Linked DNA regions of Homo sapiens: regions 2 and 3 are each linked to region 1. Evidence: promoter capture Hi-C in human tissues and cell types (Jung and others, 2019). All regions are on one chromosome and are shown on one strand. Each heading gives the region's core, a stretch centred on a gene start or on the middle of the fragment in contact. The rest is flanking DNA. Distances are from core to core; before and after follow the strand shown.

The links. Contacts are between HindIII fragments. The study calls those that stand out against the background at their distance.
Region 2: a fragment that was not itself captured here is called in contact with the fragment with the promoter of GLRX in region 1 in 1 of the 25 tissues and cell types used here (dorsolateral prefrontal cortex).
Region 3: a contact is called between a fragment that was not itself captured here and the fragment with the promoter of GLRX in region 1, in 1 of the 25 tissues and cell types used here (thymus).

The regions. Positions count from the first base shown.
Region 1 is chr5:95,820,279-95,825,175 of GRCh38, forward strand. GLRX (glutaredoxin) reads right to left here and starts at 2,448. Exons shown (of 3, transcript NM_001118890.2): 1 at 2,178-2,448. The coding sequence starts at 2,384. RefSeq lists enhancers at 820-959, 2,876-2,965, 3,196-3,696. The HindIII fragment of the contact is 9,845 bases long and covers 1-4,897 here.
Region 2 is chr5:96,312,933-96,317,829 of GRCh38, forward strand. All of the region lies in intron 2 of LOC101929710 (a long non-coding RNA gene), which reads left to right. It also overlaps a transcript of CAST not described here. Among named protein-coding and RNA genes, the nearest start is that of PCSK1, 120 kb to the right of the region's middle. The HindIII fragment of the contact is 4,889 bases long and covers 552-4,897 here.
Region 3 is chr5:96,236,450-96,241,346 of GRCh38, forward strand. The region is part of intron 1 of LOC101929710 (a long non-coding RNA gene); the gene reads left to right. It also overlaps a transcript of CAST not described here. Among named protein-coding and RNA genes, the nearest start is that of MIR583, 160 kb to the left of the region's middle. The HindIII fragment of the contact is 5,381 bases long and covers 16-4,897 here.

The DNA of each region.
Region 1 (4,897 bases), core at 1,198-3,697:
AGTTCGAGGCTGCAGTCAGCTATCATTGCACCACTGCACTCTAGCCTGGGTGACAGAGCAAGACTCTGTCTCTTAAAAAAAAAAAAAAAAAAAAAAACCTTAAAAGATTACTACAAGAAATATTGTTGTTCTACAAAGAAATGAAAAAGCAATTGTTGACCAGGTGTGGTAGCTCACACCTGCACTTTGGGAGGCTGAGGTGGGTGGATCACCTGAGGTCAGGAGTTCGAGACCAGGTTGGCCAGCATGGTGAAACCCCATCTCTAATAAAAATACAAAAATTAGCTAGGTGTGGTGGCAGGTGCCCGTAATTCCAGCTACTTGATTGCTTGAACCTGGGCGGTGGAGGTTGCAGTAAGCCAAAATCACACCACTGCACTCCAGCCTGGGCGACAAGAGCGAAATTCCATCTCAAAAAAAAAAAAAAAGCAATTGTTAAATGAACACATGAAGAGGTTTGCTTTACCTCCTGGAAAATAGATGCTGTTGGGCTGAGAACAATAATCCCAATTGTGTTGCACATTGGAATCCCCAAGGGATTTTTCCAAATAAAAATCCCAGGTGTGGTGGCTCACCCGTTTAATCCCAGCACTTTGGGAGGCCGAGGTAGGTGGATCGCCTGAGGTCAGGAGTTCGACACCAGCCTGGCCAACATGGTGAAACCCCGTCTCTACTAAAAATACAAAAATTAGCTGGGCATGGTGGTGGGCGCCTGTAATCCCAGCTACTTGGGAGGTTGAGGAGAACCCAGGAGGCAGAGGTTGCAGTGAGCCAAGATTGCACCATTGCACTCCAGCCTGGGTGACAAGAATGAAACTGTCTCAAAACAAACGAACAAACAAAACTAATGCTTGGCTCCCACCTCTGACATTGTGATTTAGTTATTGAGGGGCATAATTTGGGCATAAGGATTGTTTTAAAAGCTCTCTAGGTGATCCTAATGTGCAGCAAAGTTTGGGAACCAATGGCTAAAAGGTCCTCAGGGTGGCAGCCACAGTGGGGCCCGTAGTAGTGTTTGCACTGCCCTTTACACCTCTCAGGGCCTGGGCATCCTATGCAGCTGGTGGTCCCACTAGGCAGCAAGAGCTTCTCTCGTCATTGTGTATACTCCAGGACCTCAGCACACAGCAGTAGGATAACACACTAAGCCCCCTTTCTGCACCAAAATGCTGACTTCTTATTAGAGAGAAGGGGAGAGAAACAACCTCCAATGCTTTATACTCAGAACCCAGAGACAACCTTGTAAGTCAAACTAAAACTGAAATAGGATATGTGCTTGGCCTAACACTGTGCTGTAGAATTCGTGCATCGTAAAAGAGAACTTAGCTGAGCTGGTGGGACATTTCTCATCCCACCTCACAGCAGAACTGATACAGGTGATGTGGCTGGCATCCCTCCTGAAGCCCAGGACGCAAAGCCAAGGATGCTGAAGAGAGGGAAGTCTTTCGGATGGAGGAGAGCAATTTTTAGAGGGTCCCACAGTCTATTCGTAGCAAATGGGACTCTGAGGTCACCTAATCTGGTCTTGCAGCTGGGATCTTTGAGGACTACTGGGGTGGTGACTTGCCCAGGATCACACAGCCAGCCATTATAAGAGCCAGGCCAGAACTCCAGGCTATGATTCCCTACAATGTGGGGCCTGGAAACATCCATAATTAATTTAGAACAAGGGGCAGATAACGGTACATTAGATTTTTCCAGTGGGAGGAATTAGATAAGGAAGAATGAGCAAATTAGAAAAAGAAAGCCTAGAGAAAAGAATGAAGAACATGAATCTCATGTTAAATAACAAACACATCACACCCGGCCCTCCACCCCAGCTTCCACCTCCAGCCCTGCCAACTGAAAACTGTCATTTCCTGGCAGTGCTTAAAACAAAGACTCTAGATAATTCCCCAGGGACTCACCGGCAAGCTGCTGGTCCCACTTACCCTGCCGCACAGCAGACATCAGCTGTACTCCCTCTTCTGCCCCGTGAAGACCTTTGGCTGCAGTGCCGCCGCTCATTCAAGTGACCGAGATCCTCTCTAAGGCGCCCTCCCCCACACCCCCCGCCCCGCACAGCCCTCTGGACGCCTTGAAGTACGGAGCCGCAGCCTTATCCTAAAGAAAGGCACAGCTCTGACAAGAAAAGGCAATCCGGGAGCCTTTCCCTAGCCGTTTAAAATGAAACTCACCGTTCTTGCTCCCGTGAGCTGTTGCAAATAATCTTGAATCTCGTTAGTGTGGTTGGTGGCTGTGATATCGACAAATTCCAGAAGCCCTTGTTTGATGGGCAATTGACTGAGGATCTCTTGGGCCCTCCTGCAGTACGGGCAGGTGGGCTTGATGAACACAACCACCTTCCCAGGCTGGATTTTGCAGTTCACAAACTCTTGAGCCATGCCGATGGGCTGCGGTCTCCCCGGGAAGAATCCTCAGTTGCAGGTATTGCTTGGGGTATTGAGCCCCGACCCAGCCAGTTGGCTCCTATTTAATAAGGAACCTCCCTGGAGGCGGAGTTTGCCTGGTAGCTTGCTCGAGTTTTAAAGGGACAGCTTCGAAGACATTTCCATCTGGTATACTTCACTAGTTAGCAATGCCCAGGAATGCAATACTTGCTATTTAATCATTGGTAGCTATGAAAGACACTCTGGGTATCTTTGTTGTCCTTGGACATTTGGGGAGTGCCTGCCCATTGGCAATGATCAGAGTTTAGTCACCTCTGGGGAAGCATAAAGTGCTTACTCACAAAGGGGCTGAGGAGGCAGTGACTTCTTAGAGCAAATTCTTGTTTTCCCTCTAGGAGATACAGTTGTATTTTAAAATGCAAACAGAATCACTTAAGAAACAGAACACTTGGAAATCTCTTTAGAAGAAGTGAAATTGAAACTGTGACTTTGCACTCCTCATGAAGGTTGCTCTCACAGCATTTTGCTTGGACTGTATGGTGGGTGTTTGTTGTTGTGATCTTTTTAATGGAATTCATTCTCAGTATTTAAAAATCTGGAGGTCTCACAAAACAATTCGGACTTAAAACTTCTCTCTGAAAAGTCAGGTCGGGCAATACAGAGCTTGCACCTTTTAGTGGAAGCTGCTGGGGCTGACAGCTGTTGCCCCCTTTGTATAGGGCAAGTAGTGGCTTTGGTTTGCCACAGGTCCCAACGACAGGCCCATGCCTGAGACACCGGCTTCACCCCATAACCATTTGAGTTGGTAACCCTTGAACAGCAGTTTAATATGGAGGCAAATTCCAACACAATCCTTGATACAAAACTACAGATGAAATGAGAATCTTTTTTTCTGGTTGAGCCTATGTTTGTGACCCTCTGCTTTTAACTGTTTGTGAGGGGAAGTAGTGTTGTAACTCAGACACCACATTCACTTCAAGTGTTATAAGACACGGGTTGTAACAGTAGGAAATCTTTCGCTCTTCCCCAGGGTGCCCATTCTCCTTATCCCGCAAAGCAAAGTCCTCTACTCCTGGGTCTAGTTCCGGCCCCCTCTAGTGTATGGTAGCTTAAATAAACAAATCAAGGAAAAACTATGTCCTTTAAACGTGAATCATCCTTTCCCCAGGAAGTTTTATGGTGAAACCAGAGTATCTTCAAAGAGGCGGGGCCAAGGCCAGAGCTGGACACCACGACTGCCACGTAAGAGGAATCCCAAGCATACTGCGATCAAGGGAAGGGAAGAAAATCCACTCCCAGAAGCAGCTTTTTACTGTGACTCTCATCGTTACTAGAATTAAAATGGCAAAATGAGAAAGCCAGATTCTGAGTCACGGAGGGGGAGCTAAGTGACAGCTCTGTCCAGAGAAAAGGATGTGGCAGGGCTGGGAGGCCCCTCACGTGGTCAGGGCTCCGGACTTCCCACTTCCCACTTCCCTCCAAAGTAGGCTCTGCCACAGAGTCTGAGCCTCCTCTCTTTTTTCATTCTTTTACCTCAGAACCCTGTGGCCAGGCTCCTTCCAGAGGCCCCTGCCAGGAGGTCCAGGGTCTGTTTCAGGGCCCTCAGGCTGTTGCCTTAAGTTCCCTCAGCCTGAGGTTTATCCACACGACTTGCACCTGCTACTCACTCAGAGCCTTTCTCTTCTCCGGTCTGTTGTTGGCTCCTCCCTTCCTGGTGCCTCAGCCTGCCACTGTGTTCAAGTTAAAAGCCACCACCACCACCACCACTCCCCATTTCCTGCTTTCCTGCCTCTGCCCTTTCATGAAATTTACTGTCTGTACCTTTCTCACCTCCATTCTCTCATTTTGTTGTTATCTGACCTTGTCAACCATTCTGCTGAATTGTTGGCAGACACTAATCATGGCCTCTATGTCACCAAATGACCATTTAGCTAGGTATCCTGACCTTTTGCAAATTAGTCACCTGCCCCAAGAGGCTGGGATCCAGGGAGACTATTGTCTGCCTCTCACTCAGTCCCGGGGACTGCCTGGTGTCTGAAGCCTTAGGACAGATGGCCATAAGGCACAAGCTAAAGGCAATTTTTTTGTGAGGCACCATGTGGAAAATGGGAGACAAAGAGATGGCAAAGAACGGGTGTCCTCTCCATTTCTCAGAAAATGCTGTGGCTTCAACTCAGTGAAAAATGACAAGCATAGAAGCCTCTGCTGCATTGTACAGCAGGAGCTGAAACCCAGCATGGACCTTAGGGCATCTCAATGGAAAGCCGCCATGGGGACTGCAGATGCGTCAAGTGCTGTGGATGGAAAGAGGGTGTGCGTGTGGACTAACACGTGTGGACTCTCCTTTGGCTTGTGTGAGACACTCCCAGGCACTCTCAGAAAATACACCTTGGAGGGTGGGAAGTGAGGGCATTTTTTAGGGGAGAATCAGTCCTGCTTTACAGATGGTTGGCAACAAGCTAGTGAAATATGTGTGGTTACTCTTTTTTTTTTTTTTTTTTTTTTTG
Region 2 (4,897 bases), core at 1,746-4,245, 490 kb after region 1:
TCAGAGACGAGACATTTGTTCATTACATACTATGGATGTTGTAGTTATTAGGGCTTAATTCTCTCAAAACTGGCTGAAAATGGTTGATTGACGTTCAAGTCTACCACTGGATATATAGGATATAAATTATTGCCAACAAAAGGATAAAGATCAAAAGCCTTCAGTAGTGAAAATGGTCAAACCATAATCAAACAAAAAATCAAGATACTGCTTTCTTCAACTCAAGTTTTTTTCTGTCTTAGACATAAAAGTTTATTTTGTTTTAAGATATAATTTATATACAATAAAATTCACTGTGTTTATGTGTACAATTCAATGAATTTTGGCAAATTTATACAGTCAGGTAACAATCACCAAAATCAAGATATAGATTTATTTCCTCATGACCCTTTGTAGGAGTCAATCTGCCTCCTCCACTTCCAGACACTGGCAACCACTGATCAGATTTGTGTCTCATAGTTTTTTTCTTTTCCAAATATCATATAAATTGAATCATTCAATATGTATTCTTCTGAGTCTGGCTTCTTCCACTTAGCATAATGCTTCTTAGATTCATCCATGCTGTTGTGTGTATCAGTAGTTCTTTTTATTGCTATATAGATATAACAATTTATTCACCAGTTGATAGACATTTTGGGTTGTTTCCAACTTTAAGCATTTATGAATAAGATTACTTAAACATCCATATGCAGGTTTTTATGTGGACATAGGCTTTTAGTTCTCCAGGGTAAATACCTTCATGTAACCTTCACTTTATAAACTGCCAAACATTTTCCCAATGTGGAAATCCCACCAGCAATATATAAACATTCAAGTTGGTTTGCATTCTCTTCAGCATTTGGCACTGTCAGATTTTTTTTTTAATTTTGAGCCATTCCAATAGGTGTGTCATGATACCTCATTTTGTCTTTCAAGTTTTAATAATTAGGTTTATAAAATCAGTTATGAAAAACATCAAATAATTGAAGGTGTATCAGACATCAAAAAGATGTTTCTGCTGTTTTGTTATCATTGAGTCTTGGCTCTTCACCATGTTTTCCTGTCCATTTTGGACCACTGAACTATCATTAATCCTAAATTACAAGTATGCAGTACCCAAATATACATGGCTTCTGTATGCATAGGAACCTGCTTTCTAGCTTGTTTGGGACCTTGCTATCATAGGATTTCTAATGGAATTGTTAGAAGAGTTTTTGCTCATTTCTTCACACAGTGGGTCAGAGAAATATTTTGCTGATTATCTCTAAAACTGAAAACTTGTAAATTATTTTCTGTAATTTTCCAAGCCAGTCTCATGTAGAAAATTGACTTTTGCCATAGTGAGAGGAGAATTAAAGTTGTGGGAGCTACAGCACCAATTTTCTTTTCATCCTTGCTGAAGTTGGGCATCTTTCCTGTTGCCTTTATTTTGATTATTTGTTGGGCCTTGTGATCACTTGCTTTTGTTAGGCTTCCTCTTGCTGTTGCTAAATGTTGGGATGAATTAGGAACCTCATCCTTTCTATGTATTTGTAGCATAGGTGAAGCTGAGCAAATGGGGCTCCAGTGCCTCTTCTCCAGCTTTGACTAGACCAAGAGCCTTCTCTGCTACACAAACATGGCAGGATCCTTCATGACTGTTCATTTGTACAAGTTTGTTTATTTGTTTTTGTTTTCTGCTGAGAATGACTTTGGCTTCCTTTTCTGCCTGGGTAATTCTTACTTGTTCTTCAAGATCAGACCAAATATTACCTCCTTTATGATGTCAAATTCCCTAAGCCTTTTAAGTCATACCTGCTGAACCCTTTTCTTGTTTTAAGTCCTATTACGTTGCTCTGTGATAACCTGTTCACATTTCTGTATCCTTCCTAGACGCTGAACTCCTCCCAGTCAAGAAGCACATGCTGATCGTTACTGACTTAACATAAAGTACACACTCAATAAATACTTTTGACTGACCCTTTAAATTTGCAATATAGCTACATTTAAATGCAGAGGTTTTCTTTAACTTCAAAAAGGAATGATAGAAGCATTTGCTAAACAAGAAAGTTTATTTAGTAGAAGCCATTTATATATTAATATATTTAGGCAAAGTGGTGATCATAAGATTTGATTGATCTCAGGACTGGATTCCTCTCACCCTCACGCAATCAGTGTGATTATAAACCACATGTTATGGGAAAGAAAAGTCAAAGAATTAAAATAATTCTGTGACTCTTGTCTCCATTGTTAAACTGTGATACGGGTATAAGTAATTGCTTTAATCATGTCAGCAAAATATTAGGACTGTGGGATTAAACAATTGTTTAGTATAAGTATGTCCCATGCAATATTTGAGACATTCTTATAATAATAAAAAAGTTTGTTGTTTATCTGAAGTTCAAGTTTAACTACATACACCTTCTTTTATATGACAACCGTAGCCAAAGGGAAACCTCTGCACTTCACAGAGTGGAAGGACTGATAGGGAATACAGACAGTGCTCTTGGAAGCCAGTTCAGAAATGTATAGTGAACAATGTGAGGCCATGATTCCTTAGACTGGTCAGTATATGTCAACTCAGCAGCATGATCATCTTTGCCAGGGTAGAGAGCAAGACCAGAAACTGAGATCAGAAAGAGAAGTGGGAGTGGTGAAGTCACTGACCATATGGTCATTTGGGTCAAAGATGGCACCATTTAAAGGTCTGTAACTATGGTAGATTAAAGATAGCCACAAATTCTTTGCTACTATTTTTGGTAGAGGTCTATTGCCTTCCCTTTGAATGTGGATGGGCTCTGTAACTGCTTTGACCAATGGAATAATAGCAGAAGTGACACTGTGCCAGTTTTCTGAGCCCAGGCCCTAAATATCTGTAGGTTTTCACTTTCTGTTTCTTAGAACACTATTTTTGAGATCTCTGAGCCTCCATATAAGAAGTCCAGCTTTCCTGAGATGGCCATGCTGGAGTAGTCACATGTAGGCACTTTGGGTTGACAGATCCAGCTGAGCCCAGACTTCCTGCTGTCACCATCAAGTGACATGAGAGAGAAGCTGTTGTGGACCATTCAGACCACCTAAGGGTTGAGTACCCCCAAGTGAACTCCTTCAAGCCACGCAGAGAAAAACAAAACCCACCCAGCTGAGCCTGAGCCTTCTCTGAATTTCTGACCCATGACATCTGGAGATATAATTAAATGCTTGTCTGTTTAAGCTGCCAATTTTTGTATGGCTTTGTAACATAGTAATAGGTAACCAGAATAGTGAATATAAACAGAAGTTTCCCTGACCACATGGTGACTTAAGAAAGAAGTACTTGCCATCATTTTAGTATGTAAACTTCTCCATTTGCTTGTTTGCCAAGAAAATCTTGCTTAGAAAGAAATCTTACCTAGAATGCAATATATAATAGAGCTCAAAGTCAAGCTGCCTGAGCTGAAGCATAGCTAGGAGTCCAGAGTCACATCTTCTCTGTCCTCTTGTCCTAAACTCCCCAGATGCCAGGAGATGTTCTGTAGCCCAGCTGAGAAAGATTGTGAGGTATGTCTGAGACCTAATCTAAGAGGCAGGGGAACCACAATAAGATGTGCAAACCTGGGACTAGATGCAGAGAATGTTACCATGGGAAGCACGGCAAAACTGTCAGCATCAGATAAAGCCCTGCTTAAATGTGCAGAGGAGATCAAAAAGTCAGGTTGAAAGCACCAACAGCTGAACATGTTGTAACAAAGAAACTTTCTAAAGGTAGAGGGGAACCGTGAGAGAATGCAGCCAGAATCTGAGAACCCCCACAGAGAGTGTCATCAGGAATCCCAAAGGATAATGATGCAAGAAGAGGACTCTGACCTAAGCCACCCAGGGCCAAAAGACTATACTAATTCCTTTGAGAGGAAAGATGAAATAAGACCACACCTGGGTTATATATGCTGTAATTACTGATATTTATCTAACTTAATTGCCAAGTAAATCTGTTTCTAGTTTTACTCTGGCTCTTCTCAAATTAAGTCTTTTGTTTTCCGAATATTACACATAAGATCTCTGTGTAGATAATGTTGAATGGAATGTTGAACTGGGAATGGTTGGCCTTAAAAGATTATCTAGTTATGTTCTTGGTACCTAAAGAGAGACTAGGTTTGAGTGAGCAAGGCCTCTGTATAAAAGATACTAGTTAGATAACATACACCGAAGGAGATACTTGTCCAGCTTGAACATTACCACACACATTTGACATTTCAGAAAACTACTGGTTTATTTAAAGCAAGTCACACGTACATTATAAAGGTGTCATCCTGGCCAGGTGTGGTGGCTCATGCCTGTAATCCTAGCACTTTGGGAGGCCAAGGCAGGTGGATCACTTGAGCCCAGGAGTTTGAGACCAGCCTGGGCAACATGGTGAAACTGTGTCTGTACCAAAAATACAAAAAAAAAAAAAAAAAATTAGCTGGGCATGGTGGTGCACTCCTGTAGTCCCAACTACTAGGGAGGCTGAGGCAGGAGAATCGCTTGAGCCCAGGAGGCAGAGGTTGCAGTGAGCTGAGATCATGCCACTGCATTCAAGCCTGGGCAACAGAGTGAGACTCCATCTCAAAAAAAAAAAAAAAAAAAAAAAAAGAATGGTGTCATCCTATTTTAGAATGAAAACCTTAAAACCTAGCATATTTTGTTCTGTATATACTTGAAAAATAATTTTATCTGATGAATATGTATGATGATCATAATAATTATTTAGTCATATTACATGAACCCTTCTTCCAAGGAAGTGCAAAGCTTTTAAACAAGCCACTTCTAAAAACTGTCACATCCTATTGCATGCAGCAACAATCAGAGAAGCCCTGACTTGGCATTTTAGTATATTAATAGGCTGAGTGAATTCCTAGCTTAACTGAGGTGGGCCCCTTGGAGGATCTTATGGGTGTTTTTTTAGGAAACAAACCAAACA
Region 3 (4,897 bases), core at 1,456-3,955, 420 kb after region 1:
CTAGTACTGTCTCCTCGGGGACTCTAGAGTCTTCCCTTTCCTTTGCCCAGCATGAGTGGGTCTGAAATGTGCATAAATAGGCACTTCCGTGAATCCCGCTGAATTTTTAAGAGGATTTAAGGAGTAAGGAATGAATGAAAGACTATACAAATCATTCTCCAAATGCCCAAAATGCACGTGAAAGCATTTCTGCTGAACTTTCTGATAATCTACTCCTGGCCCTGTGGTGATTTCTCCCCAAATATTGCATGTTTCAGACATACTTATACTAAAAATCATTTATCTAAAATTCAAATCGAACTGGGTGGCCTATATGTTATCTGGCAGCCCTAAGTTAGACAATACTGTGTATTTATGACCATGATAACTTACTGGACCTGGGTTCTTCTTTGACTGTGAAATAAAGTACTCTGTTACATTCCTGTCCATGTGTAGTGTGATAATGCAACCCTGTCTTTGAAAAGCCAGCTCAAATGCCGTGGCCTCTTTCCTGATCCTTCATTTGTCCAGTCAGAAGTACTGTCTTCTTCCTCTGAATCCTATAGCCTGTCTCTTGTTTTGGTTGTATATTACAACTAAAGTTGTGTCAGCATTTCTCAAAGAGAAGCAGCTGAAACCCAGATTCTTCTGGTAAGTGAAGTTAGATGACAGTCATCTCCCCTTCAGTGACTTGAAATCACTGATGTTTAACAGAAACCAAAATGGATTCAGGTCTGTCCACAGTGGGGTTTCATATCTTTGTGTTATGGGCTTAGGTGGCCCTAAAGAGGCTAATTCTGCAAGGAGAGAGAAGTATGGCCTGAGAGGAGGGTTCTGGAATGGTGAGCTACCCTAGAACCTTTGTATTGGTGTTAGTATCATGTGATTTGTCTCTGCTAGAATTTTGCTTATATAAGTCTTATTCAAATGTGAGTTTAGCCTTTTTTGGGGGGAGTAGGGGTAATATCTGTGTTCTACTTTTGTCTGATATGGGAATTAGGGATTTATTAGTTTCTAAAAATGGTGTCTAAAAGTTGCACGTTTTTCTAGCCTGTAGAAGCGATTATTAATCGTTTGAAAATCACCAATTACTTGGAAAGTTTCTATAATTTGTATATAAAACTAAAGGGGCCTGGAACCATATTCTGGAAATAATCTTTGCCAAAGCTTTACATTGTTTTTGTCATCATTATCTATTCAGTTTGTCTATATCTTCTTAATTTGATTTTGGAAATTTGTATTTTTTTCTATAAACATGTAATTTCTATTGAGACTTTAAGTATATTTTCATAGAATTATATGTACATATTTTTAACAATTAAAAAAATCTACTCTCAATCTGTTAATTTTTCTACTTACGCATTCCTAATTTTTCCTAAAGCTTATTTTTGTCCAAAGAATTTCTCATGGTTTTGTTTTTGATTCTGTCCTTTTCCAATTCCTAATTTATTAAAACAGATTTTAACTTTTAATTCCTTCTTTTTGCTTCCTTTGGGTTTACTTTATCCTCTAATTTATAAAAATTGTATGTTTAGTTAATATTATTATTTGTTGATTAAATAATGAAAGATTATATGAATGTTACCAAAAACATTATTAGTCATCTCTCATAATTAAACAAAATGAAATACAATGTTATTTTTTCAGATGATCTTCAGAAAAATAGAAACAAGAAAATAAAGAACACTCATAATTTAACTACTAAATTTAATACATTTTAACCTTTGAGACATTCTTTTAGGTTGTTCTCTTTCCTCTGTTCTCTTTTTCTTTCTATACATATTTTTAAAAAATGACATCACACTATATTTAGGCAATTTTATATTTCTTTCCCTTTTAGATAATATTTTAATGTCAGAAAATGCAAATCTGTTTCTTCTTCTTCTTCTTCTTCTTCTTCTTCTTCTTCTTCTTCTTCATCTTCATCTTCTTCTTCTCCTTCTTCTCCTTCTTCTCCTTCTTCTTCTTCTTTTTTTTAGACGGAGTTTTTGCTCTGTTGCCCAGGCTGGAGTGCAATGGTACCATCTGAGCTCACTGCAACCTCTGCCTCCCAGGTTCAAGTGATTCTCCTGCCTCAGCCTCCTGAGTAGCTGAGATTATAGGCACCTGCCACCACACCTGGCTAATTTTTTTTTTTTTTTTTGTATTTTTAGTAGAGATGGTGTTTCACCACGTTGGCCAGGCTGGTCTCGAACCTCTGACCTCAAATGCTCTGCCTGCCTTGGCCTGCCAAAGTGCTGGGATTACAGGCGTGAGCCACCGCGCCCAGCCTATATCTTCATTTTTAATAGCTGCATAGTTTTCTACAGCCTGGCTATACTATAATTTATTTAAACTACCCACTATTGAAGAATATTAAAGTGTTTCCTGTTTCTATGTTAGTATCTTTACTATATAATGAGAGCTAAATAATTAATAAAGTAGAAACCAACAATATGTTGGATTGAAAATGATTGTACATACCTCCTTAATCAGCAAACTTATTTCTTTTGTGTGGGTTTCTAGACATAGAATTGTTTGGGAGTCATTGGGTATAGGTATATTAAATTTTCATAAATTTTTCCAAACTTCCTTTCAGATTGGTTGTGTTATTTGCACTCCTACCAACTTTGGTGAGAGTGTTTACTTCATATATCCTGGCACCATTGGCTATAATTAATATAATCATTGCCAATATGATAAAACTATAATTTTTAACAACTTCATTGTTTTTAAAATTTTAATTTTTTTAATTAATGGTAAGGTTACATTTTTGATAAATGTATTGCCCAATTATGCAATGACTTATATATGTAAACATATGTAATATACTTAAGTCATTTAAATAGTACCTGGTATAAAATAAGTGCTATATAATGATTGCTGTTGTATTGTTTTATTATTAATTTTATTTTCATGTTGTAAATTGCCTGTGATTATTCTTTACTAATTTGCTATTGAGACTTATTTTTAAATTGTCTCCTGACAGGAGTTTTGAGTTCTCTTTGACCCTAGAGTTAATTAGGAGTGTGATATTTGAGGCTTTTTTGGGGGGAGTATAAACTTTATTAGATTTCTACCTTAATGTTTCTAGCTTTGCTTTTTTTCTACCTGCATGCATGTAGTACTCATTCTTCAATCCTGAAATGTTAAAATTTCAGGAGATGTGTGGTTTTTTCCACTAATCTGCCCTTAGGGAGTCTTTTTGTCCTAACGTCTTTCAATTTTCTTGTATCACATCTTTACCTATTGTTTCTATCTCATTTTCTTCTGGTATTATCTGGAATATGAATTATTAATAACATTGGATTTTTCTTTTTATCATCCCTTTATAATATTATTTCTCTCATCTTTTAAATATCTGTTCTTTTTCTCTGCATTCTGAAAGAATCTTTTAAGTATATTCTTCACATCACTAGTTTTATTTTCTATAGTGTCAATTCTATCTTTACTGCCTTCATTCTAGATACGTGTTATAATTTTGCGTCTTTTGGACTTCTTACCTGCCCTTTTCTTTTTGCTGCCTTTTACCCAGGCACACTTATATCTAATTTGTAATTTAACCTCATTTGACCTTCAATAGTATATGTTTTTATAATTTTATTGGGAACATGAAGCATAAGTTTCTAATATTTACCTCCTATTTCCTATATAGTAGGTAACTTGTAAATTTTGCTTTGTTTTTCCATCTTGAATGTAATTAATTTATTATACCATAGATTATTTTCATAATTCCATATCAATATTTTTGTCTTGCTGCTTATCATTTTTATTTGAGCAATAGATTACCTATGCTTGATATCTATCCACAAACTGGGTAGGTCAGACTTCAGCTTTCTGCTATTAAGCTTTACTACAGCTGGATTTCAATCATACTGTCAGTTCACAGATCTGTCTCCCACAGACTGAGAGGAGGAAGAAGGAAGGTACATCAGCAGAAGAATGTTGACTGTGCACAGTTTTCTCTCCATGTTTGGTGAAGCTGCTGGGCAAGCGTCCGATTTCTGGGTCCACCTTCTTTACTGTCTACTCTTAGCCAGCTTTCCTAATGCTTTATACAGTCTGCAGCTGTGTCCAGCTTCCTTCCCAGTTGAAATCTTACTGCATGTTATGGCCTCTGCAAGAATTGAGTGACTTCAAGAAATATTCATTTTTTTATTATTATTATTTTTTAGAGATAGGCTCTTGATCTGTCACCCAGGCTGGAGTGCAGTGGCATGATCATAGTTCACTGCAGCCTTGTACTCCTGGGCTCAAGCAATTGTGGTGCCTCAGCTTTCTGAGTGGCTGGGACCACAAGTGCATGTCACCTTGCCCAGCTAACTTTCTTTTTTTTTTTTTTTTTTTTTCTGATGCAGTGAGTTAACTCTAGGAATTTATTTTACTGATAATTTTACATACTTTCAAAAGGACATTTATACCAGATTATTCACTACAGAACTATTTGCTACATTAGAGGGATTGAAAACCATATAAATGTTTATTAGGAAGGAAATGGATAAAGTATACTTAATTCACATATTGAATACTATACAGCTACAATACAGAATGAAATTTATTATGTACTAATATCAGAATGTATAATATGCTACTATTTATATGATAAGCATGTATTTGTTTTATGTGCTTAAAATTTATCTGGAAGAATTTTTTTTAAATTTATTATTATTATACTTTAAGTTTTAGGGTACATGTGCACAATGTGCAGGTTAGTTACATATGTATACATGTGCCATGCTGGTGTGCTGCACCCATTAACTCGTCATTTAGCATTAGGTATATCTCCCAATGCTATCCCTCCCCCCTCCCCCCACCCCACAACAGTCCCCAGAGTGTGATGTTCCCCTTCCTATGTCCATATGTTCTCATTGTTCAATTCCCACCTATGAGTGAGAATATGCGGTGTTTGGTTTTTTGTTCTTGTGATAGTTTACTGAGA